Regions from separate parts of the Homo sapiens genome. Here region 1 is linked to region 2. The links are contacts of gene promoters, found by promoter capture Hi-C in human tissues and cell types (Jung and others, 2019). All regions are on one chromosome and are shown on one strand. Each heading gives the region's core, a stretch centred on a gene start or on the middle of the fragment in contact. The rest is flanking DNA. Distances are from core to core; before and after follow the strand shown.

Region 1 (4,017 bases), core at 1,410-3,909, 1.1 Mb before region 2:
ACATTAAGACAAAAACCCAGAAGCTATCCTCATATCCATCCTCACCTGATCCTTAACATACCTTTAGCCCTGTACCTAGCTGCTTATATTTCTCTCTAGGATCTGAGAAAGAATGATCATTTCCTTGCTTTCACACCTCTTGCTTCTTTCTTCTGGCTCCATTCAAAATTCTCTATTCTTCAAGTCTAAGTATCTCTCTCTTTTAGATATAATTCACATACCATAAAACTGACCCCTTTAGTGTATATTTCAGGATTTTTTTTGTACAGTTGACCCTTGAACAACATGGGTTGAACTGCATGAGTCTACTTATATGCTGATTTTCTTCTGCCTCCACCACTTGAGACAGTAAGACCAACCTTTCCTCTTCCTCCTTCTCAGCCTACTCAATGTGAAGATGACAAGGATGAATACCTTTATGATAATCCACTTCCACTTAACGAATAATAAATAGTAAACATATTTTTTCTTCCTTATCATTTTCTTAGTAACATTTTCTTTCTCTAGCTTATTGTAAGAATACAGTACATAGTACATGTAACATATAAAACATGTGTTAATCAACTATTTATGCTATTGGTAAGGCTTCCAGTCAGCAGTAAGCTATTTACGTAGTTAACTTTTTGGGGAGTCAGAAGTTATACATGGATTTTTGACAACACAGGGGTTAGCACCCCGAACCCCCTCATTGTTCAGGTGTCAACTGTATATTAGTATACAAGATATTTTAGTATATAAGGTTATGCAACCACCACCACTATCTAATTCTGGCACATTTTCATCACTTCCAAAGGAAACTCCATACTAGCAGTCACTCCCATTCCCATCCACTAATGTACTTTCTGTCTCTATTAGTTTTGCCTAATCTAGACATCTTAAATAAATGGAATCACATAATAGGTTGCCTTTTGTATGTGACTTCTTTCACTTTAATATTTTCAAGTTTTATCCATGTTACAGCAGGTATTGCTACTTTGTTTCTCTTTGTTGCTGAATAATATTCCATTGTATGGCTATATCGCATTTTGTTTAGTCATCCAATAATTAATGGACATTTGAGTTTGCCTTTTACAAATAAGGCTGCTACAAATATTTGTGTGCAAGTTTTTGTGTGAACATGTTTTAAGTTCTCTTGGATATATACCTAGGAGTGGAAATACAAGTTAAGTGTCCAAATATTTGATATAAAAATCTATTTGGTTTCTGAGTTCAGGTAGCAGAGGGTATCTCTCACAATGCAAACAATTCTATATTAAGCTCTCCATGCCATCCCTACTCAAACACCTACCATCTTCAAAGTCTGCAGATATTAGTAACAATTTACTTTTTTCCAATTAAATTGAGGAGCAGAGATCAGTTCTTACAGCTCCAGTTATATAGGAGGTGCTTAATATATGCTTATCTGACACCCTAAGAAGCTCCCAAATGAGAGAATGATGACTTACTATTCACTCTTTCATTTTATAGATATTTGAGTGTCTAATGTATGATAGCCATTGTGCTGATGCTGGGCATAATTGTGGACAAAAGTTATTGATCAGTTTTGTCATACTCCAAGAGCCAGCTCACGTCCACAAATATTTACTGAATACCTATGATGTGAATGGTCTTGTGCCAGGTATGACAGCACAGAGTGGAATAAGACCTAGTCTGCAGCCTTTTAGGGAAGGCATAAACTCTACCTACAACAACGCAATAAAAACAAACAAGAGGAGCACTGGACAGTAAGTGCTGTAAGAAAGGTATAATGCTCTGGAGAGTTAATGGACAGAACGTGTACAGTTTGGGAGAGTGTAGAAGAGGATGGATATCAGAAAATATTTCTTAAATGTGGTACTTGAGAAACGACCTCAAAGAAAGTGGCATTTTGATAGATGGGGATTCCTAGGAAAAAAGAGTGTTTCAGGCAGAAAATAGCATGAGCAAAAAAAAATATTAATGCTGGGTGCAGTACAGATTTTTTTCCCCCCAGAGGCGATCCCGTTTGGATGTGTAGATGAATAATGTGAGGTATGATCATAGTGTGAAAGGTCATTTTTGGTTTTCGTATTTAAATAAGTTTAGGAGAATGAGTTGAAAGTCTGCCTGTAACAATTCAAATTACCTTAGTGATTTGTGCCAAGATTAAGATTCCTTTTCTTGAAACTTTTCTATTTTGTATATCTTCTAATCATGGAAATTAGTGATTTCTCCTTCCCACAAGGAAAAAAAATTAAATCTTGACAACTGTGTGAGCATGCTGATAGGGGGACAAGGCTGAAGCTCAGTCAGTCTACCACTGCATCCCATACTGTGGGGAAAATGTAAAGCTTAAAACAGACATGTGGGCAAATCACAATAGCCAGAGTAGCAGAAGCAAGATTGGGGGTAAGATAATTGCATTAATGAAGCTTCTGGCACCAGGCATTGGACCAGGAGATTTACATACAACATTCTGATTCCACCAAACAACCCCATTTGGATTTAGGAAAACTGAGGCTTAGGGAGGTCAAATAAATTGCTCATGGTTACCAAGCTAGTAAGCTCAGCCAGTAAAATGCAGAGACCAGTGCTGAATTTGGGCCTATCTGATCCCATATTTTCCCCACTGTTCACTCTCATTTGTTTTCACAATACAAAAGAAGCTAGAATGGTAGGAAAATGATACATGTATCAATGAAAGGGACTGCATATTTAACACAGGGGCTTCTATGGTCTGGAGAAAAATTAGGCTGAAACATTCAAATCTGGGTTTAGAATGGCTTAGAGATTAAGACCAGGAGAGATCAAGTTTAGGGCTGCTTCTTTACCCAGTCTGAACAACGATCATAACATAGATCTTATTTAGGAATACCAAGGGAGCAAAATTCTAGTTTTAATTTGTAAATTAGAGAGTAAACTACAGTAGAATATGAATATTTGGCCGTATTTACTGTATTCAAAGTCCTGAGAACAGTGACTGGCATATAGTAGACACTCTAAACTTTTGCTTAAATAATGAAAAGTCACGTAAAGGGTATTCTCATTTGAATACCTGTGAAGGCTATGAAATAGAGACAGCAAAGCAGTAAGGTGAAAAACCATTCAGGTTCTTAAGATACTTTCTTTAATCCTCAACCCTACGGCAAAAACAACAACAAAAACAAACCACCACCAAAACGACAAACAAGGAAAGCAACAGTTGCAAAACATTAGCCTGATTTTACAAAGTAAAGTAGATGAAAGAATGAAAAGACACTTCTGTATTATGTATAACATCTCTGTGGATAATCTAATTTCAGTCAGATGGAATCCAGAATTGTGACCTACGGTTTTAATATTTCAAACTGCTGTGAGCAGTGTATCCAATGACTGTCTTTGGAAAAGAAAATGGTTATCTAATCCAAGTATTTGAAAAAAAGATTTGACACTTTCTTTGTTACATATATGGCAAGTAATGGAATGAAATCTCAAATTCATTAACTTGAAGTAACAGTACATGTACAAAAATATTAATTCTTTAAATTTTGATACTATATTTCTATTAAACATGCAAAGAAAACTGCACAAAGGGCATTAAGAAAAAAAAACCTTTGGAGGACAGCAAGCCTCTCTAAAGAAACATTTTTAAAAAGAATAAAAACAGGTTCTATGGACCTTCTCTCTCTATTTTTCACAAGCTTTTCTAATATTTCTTCTTTGATGGAACCAATGAATAACTGCCACTTATCACAAAATACCTTCTTTCAGATAGGTATTTTATATATTGCTTTCTTCTAAACAGATAGTTCTTCAAGCTGCTCAAGTCTTTCAGCTGCAACAATTTTTCTTATTTCTATTATACTGTATTTCTTCCATGGAGTACCATAAAGACCAATTTAATAAAGACAGTTTCCAAAAGGCAATATTACTCTATCTCAATCAGTATTTTAACATGATATTCTCTATTTTTTTCATTTAGTTCTACAATCTTTCCATACTTCAATAATTCCTAACACTACAGTTTCATTTGTCAGGGTGACCATATTATATTTTCTTCTATATTACATTAATATAGAA
Region 2 (4,077 bases), core at 1,019-3,518:
TTCCTTCCACTCCCATAGGTCTCAGATTCTAGTCCAGTGTGGGACTGGTTAGGAGGTAAATGCAGTGAGACATGGAATACTAAATTGCCCCTCCCACAGGCAGATTGACTGGGGGACAGGGGTCCACAGCTCTGTCGGCAACATGAGTTCAGACGTGTTCGAAGTGGGTGCAACTTAAGTTTAAGATGGGTCCTCACCTCCTTGTTCATAGAGCTACAAGAGTGAAGAAGAGGAAAGGATTAATTCATCCTGCAGAATTGAGAAAGAGCTTACAAAAGAAATGTCACTTGGGCCAGGCGTGGTGGCTCATGTCTGTAATCCCAGTACTTTGAGAGGCCAAGGTGGGAAGATCACTTGAGGCCAGGAGTTCGAGACCAGCCCTGGGTAACCCTGCCCCTACAAAAAAAAATAGCTGGGCATGGTGGCACATGACTGTAGTCCCAGCTACTTGGGAGGCTGAGGCAGGAAGATTGCTTGATCCCAGGAGTTCGAGACTGCAGTGAGCTGTGATGGCACCACCGCACTCCAGCCTGGGAAACAGAGTGAGACCTTGTCTTAAACAGAACAAAAGAATTGTCACTTGATCTGGGTTTTAAAGAGGGCTGTCAGATGGGGAAGGGAATTTCAGACAGAGGGAAGAGCAAAAGCGCAAGGCCCTTAGAGTGCTTGTTAGTTCAGACAAAGCTCTTGCTTCAGGGAATTTACACTCCAATGCAGTGAGATCAGCAATAAACAAACATGTGCATCCTGTTAGGCAGTGATAAATGCCAAGAAAAAAAATCAAACAAGGTGATAGGGCGTCTGGGAGTGGCATGGGTGCTATTTTAGGTGGAGAGGCTAAGGCCGGCCTTTCTGCAAATGTGTTTTTTGAGCAGAGACCTGAATGAAGTGAGGAAGTACGCCACGCGGGTAACAAGAGAAGGCCATTTCAGGCAGAGGGAAGAGCCAGAGTGCAAAACTCTGAGAGGAGCAGGCTTGTGTGCTCAAGAAGGCCTATGTATCTGGGGAACAGTGAGAGAAGAGGGCAGTGGGAGGAGAGGGAGCCACCATAGGGCTTTGAGCAGAGGTCATGATCAGTCCATCAGTTTGGAGAAGAGGCTTCTGGAAACATGGGCAGAAACAGAAAGACCAGTTAGGAGGCTTTGCAATGATCCAGGCGAGAGAGGACAGGGTCCTGAGTGAAGGTGATACCAGCAGAGGAGCAAAGGGGTGTTGGAGGATATTGCTGGATTCTGGTTATCTTTTGAAGGTAGAGTCAACGGGATTTGTTGATAGACTAGATAACATTGGAAAGGTAGGTTGTTGCTGAATTGGGAATTGAGACAATTTCTGAACATACCACTTCCCTCTTAAAAATTTCGTGTTAAAGTCCAGACTCATTAGCAGTCATTTATTCATTTGCTTATTCATTCAACACATACTGATTGAATGCCTAGTATGGACCAGGCATTGTGCTAGGTGTTGCAGGTAGACACAAAATTTAAAAGTAGGGCATACTGGCCGGGCGCGGTGGCTCACGCCTGTAATCCCAGCACTTTGGGAGTCCGAGGCGGGCGGATCACGAGGTCAGGAGATCGAGACCATCCTGCCTAACACTGTGAAACCCCGTCTCTACTAAAAATACAAAAAAATTAGCTGGGCGTGGTGGCGGGCGCCTGTAGTCCCAGCTACTCGGGAGGCTGAGGCAGAAGAATGGAGTGAACCCGGGAGGCGGAGCTTTCAGTGAGCTGAGCTCGCGCCACTGCACTCCAGCCAGGGTGACAGAGGGAGACTCTCTCTCTCTCAAAAAAAAAAAAAAAAAAAAGGGCATACTTTCTGCCCTTACAGATCTTCAGTCAGATGGGTGACACAGACAAGTACTTAGGTTATTACAACCCATGTGACAATTGCTACCATGGGGAAATACAGGGGGAAATAGGGGCATATAGGAAAGGTATCTAATTGGAATTGGCAAGGCTCCACTCGTACCTTACCCCGAGGTCAGCTCAGTTTTGAAGTTCACTCTAGCAGTGCTGACCATTGCGGGGCTGTGAGACAGTACAGTCTGAGCTCGGTCATCAGCGGGTGGCCAGCTTTGTCTCTGCCGCTCCGCGGCCCGGGCTTACTCGAAGGTCCCCGGGGAATAGCCTCACCTTTGCCCCACTTCCCAGTCTAGCCCCTAACTTCCCGCCGTCTATTGGCTGCGCAGCCGCCCAATGGGCAGGCGGAAACCGCGGGCTCGTGCTCCCGGCCTAGGGCGTCTTATCTCGTTCGCGCGTCTCGCGAGCATTAGGTGACTGGCTGAGGCGGCGCCAGTTGGCCGGGCACGGGGCTGCTGTAAGGCCGAGGTTGCGGCGGAAGCGGAGACCATGTTCCGAGCGGCGGCTCCGGGGCAGCTCCGGCGGGCGGTGAGTCCGGACTGGGAAGGCGAACCCAGGGACGGCCCCCCGTCAACCCGCCGTCCCTATGGGGTCTTGCAAAGATCACTGGCCCCCTCAGATTCGACCAGCCCTCGCGCCCGCAGGCCGGTCCCCGCCTGGGACTTGGGTCCAAAGTTCTGGGGCCTACCCTGGACTCCCTGCGGAACGCCAGTTCGGGGCAGAAGTCAGAGGTTTGGGGTCAGGGTGACCCCGAATGATGTGAATTTGCGCGTCTGCTGCCCCTTCTTCTGGCCCACTCTCTGCCCTGCCGTTTCCCACCTTTGTCGGTCACTCTGGGCACTTTCGGGCCGCCAGGTCCTCCACACTTGCTCCACACCCGAGGGAGCAAAATGTCACCGGGGAATGCCCTGTTGGGGAAAGTTTCAAACCTAGATTCCTCCCGGAGGCCGGCATTTCTGGAAGAATTAAACACTTTGGGCGCATCGTGGCTACTCCGACCCACTCACTGTCAAGGGCGGGGGTGGGGTGGGGTGGGAGGCTGCGTGGCCAGTTATGGAAGCTGGTTCTGCTTTCTGGTTTATGGAGCAGGGCTGAATTTAGGTGATTGTATTTGTAAAACCTGCGATCCGATTTGACAGCTTTAGCCAGTTTTGAAAGGCAGACGTCTTTTTATATGCTTCAGGCTGACCTGCTTTTAACCAGCAGATTGTAGATTAGGTTAACTGGTGACAGTGGTACATTTTCAGTGTTTCATTAGTGACAAACCACATTTCTCTCTTCTGTTGTGAGAAGGACTGATAGGAAACATATTTTCCTTCTCATGCTGTGGGAAAGGAGTATTTGGAGACTGACCAGTCACAAGTCAAGTAACAATAATTTATATTGTGGATTGTGTAGTTTTCCTAGTTTACATTTAGGTGAAATGAGAAACAAGATTGGTAAACTTGGGTCAGAAACTTACCTGATGGTTTGTACCTTTTCTCCTTTTTTTTTTTTTTTTTTTTTTTCTGGGCATGGATATTTTCCCATCCACTCCTGGGATTTTTCTCTCTGAGGCATAGCTGGAGCTCTTTCTAGATGTCTGTAGACATTAGACTTTTGTTTGTTTGTTTGTTTGTTTGTTTAAGAGACAAGGTCTGGCTCTGTTTCCCATGCTGGAGTGGAGTGCAGTGGCACGATATGGGCTCACTGCAACCGTCGCCTCCCAGGTTCAAGCGATTCTCCCACCTCAGCTTCCCGAGAAGCTGGGATCACAGGTGCGCATCATCACGCCTGGCTAATTTTTTTTTTTTTTTTTTTTTTTTTTTTGTAGAGACGGGGTTTCCCCATGTTACCCAGGCTGGTCTCGAACTCTTGTCCTCAAGTGATCCACCTGCCTCGGCCTCCCAAAGTCCTGGAATTACAGGCCTGAGCTACCGCACCTGGCCTTAGACATCTTTTTTCTTGTGCGTATTCCTTGTTTAATAAAAAGTTCTGACCCTCCCCTCCCCTAAAGAGTTCAAACCCATGTCTTTCAGGTTAGTGTCCTGTCTTCCCCTCAGGACATGTTTTCTCCCGGTTGGGGATCTAGACATAAACAAGTGAAAATCATGAATTTGGGGAAATTCCAGGAACCTGAGCCAGAAGAATGCTGCTCTATGCAGCAGTTGGAAAACAGTTTTGTGGACAGATTACAAGTCTGGCCTAAGTGAAATTATAATTGTGGTGGGGGATGGAA

The links. Contacts are between HindIII fragments. The study calls those that stand out against the background at their distance.
Region 1: a fragment that was not itself captured here is called in contact with the fragment with the promoter of ETFA in region 2 in 1 of the 25 tissues and cell types used here (spleen).

The regions. Positions count from the first base shown.
Region 1 is chr15:77,422,909-77,426,925 of GRCh38, reverse strand. The region is part of intron 1 of HMG20A (high mobility group 20A); the gene reads right to left. Among named protein-coding and RNA genes, the nearest start is that of HMG20A, 4.0 kb to the right of the region's middle. The HindIII fragment of the contact is 3,083 bases long and covers 1,118-4,017 here.
Region 2 is chr15:76,309,660-76,313,736 of GRCh38, reverse strand. It overlaps ETFA (electron transfer flavoprotein subunit alpha), which reads left to right and starts at 2,268. Exons shown (of 12, transcript NM_000126.4): 1 at 2,268-2,387. The coding sequence starts at 2,349. RefSeq lists a cis regulatory region at 1-84 and enhancers at 1,646-1,695, 1,756-1,805, 2,015-2,515, 2,516-3,016. The HindIII fragment of the contact is 24,969 bases long and covers 1-4,077 here.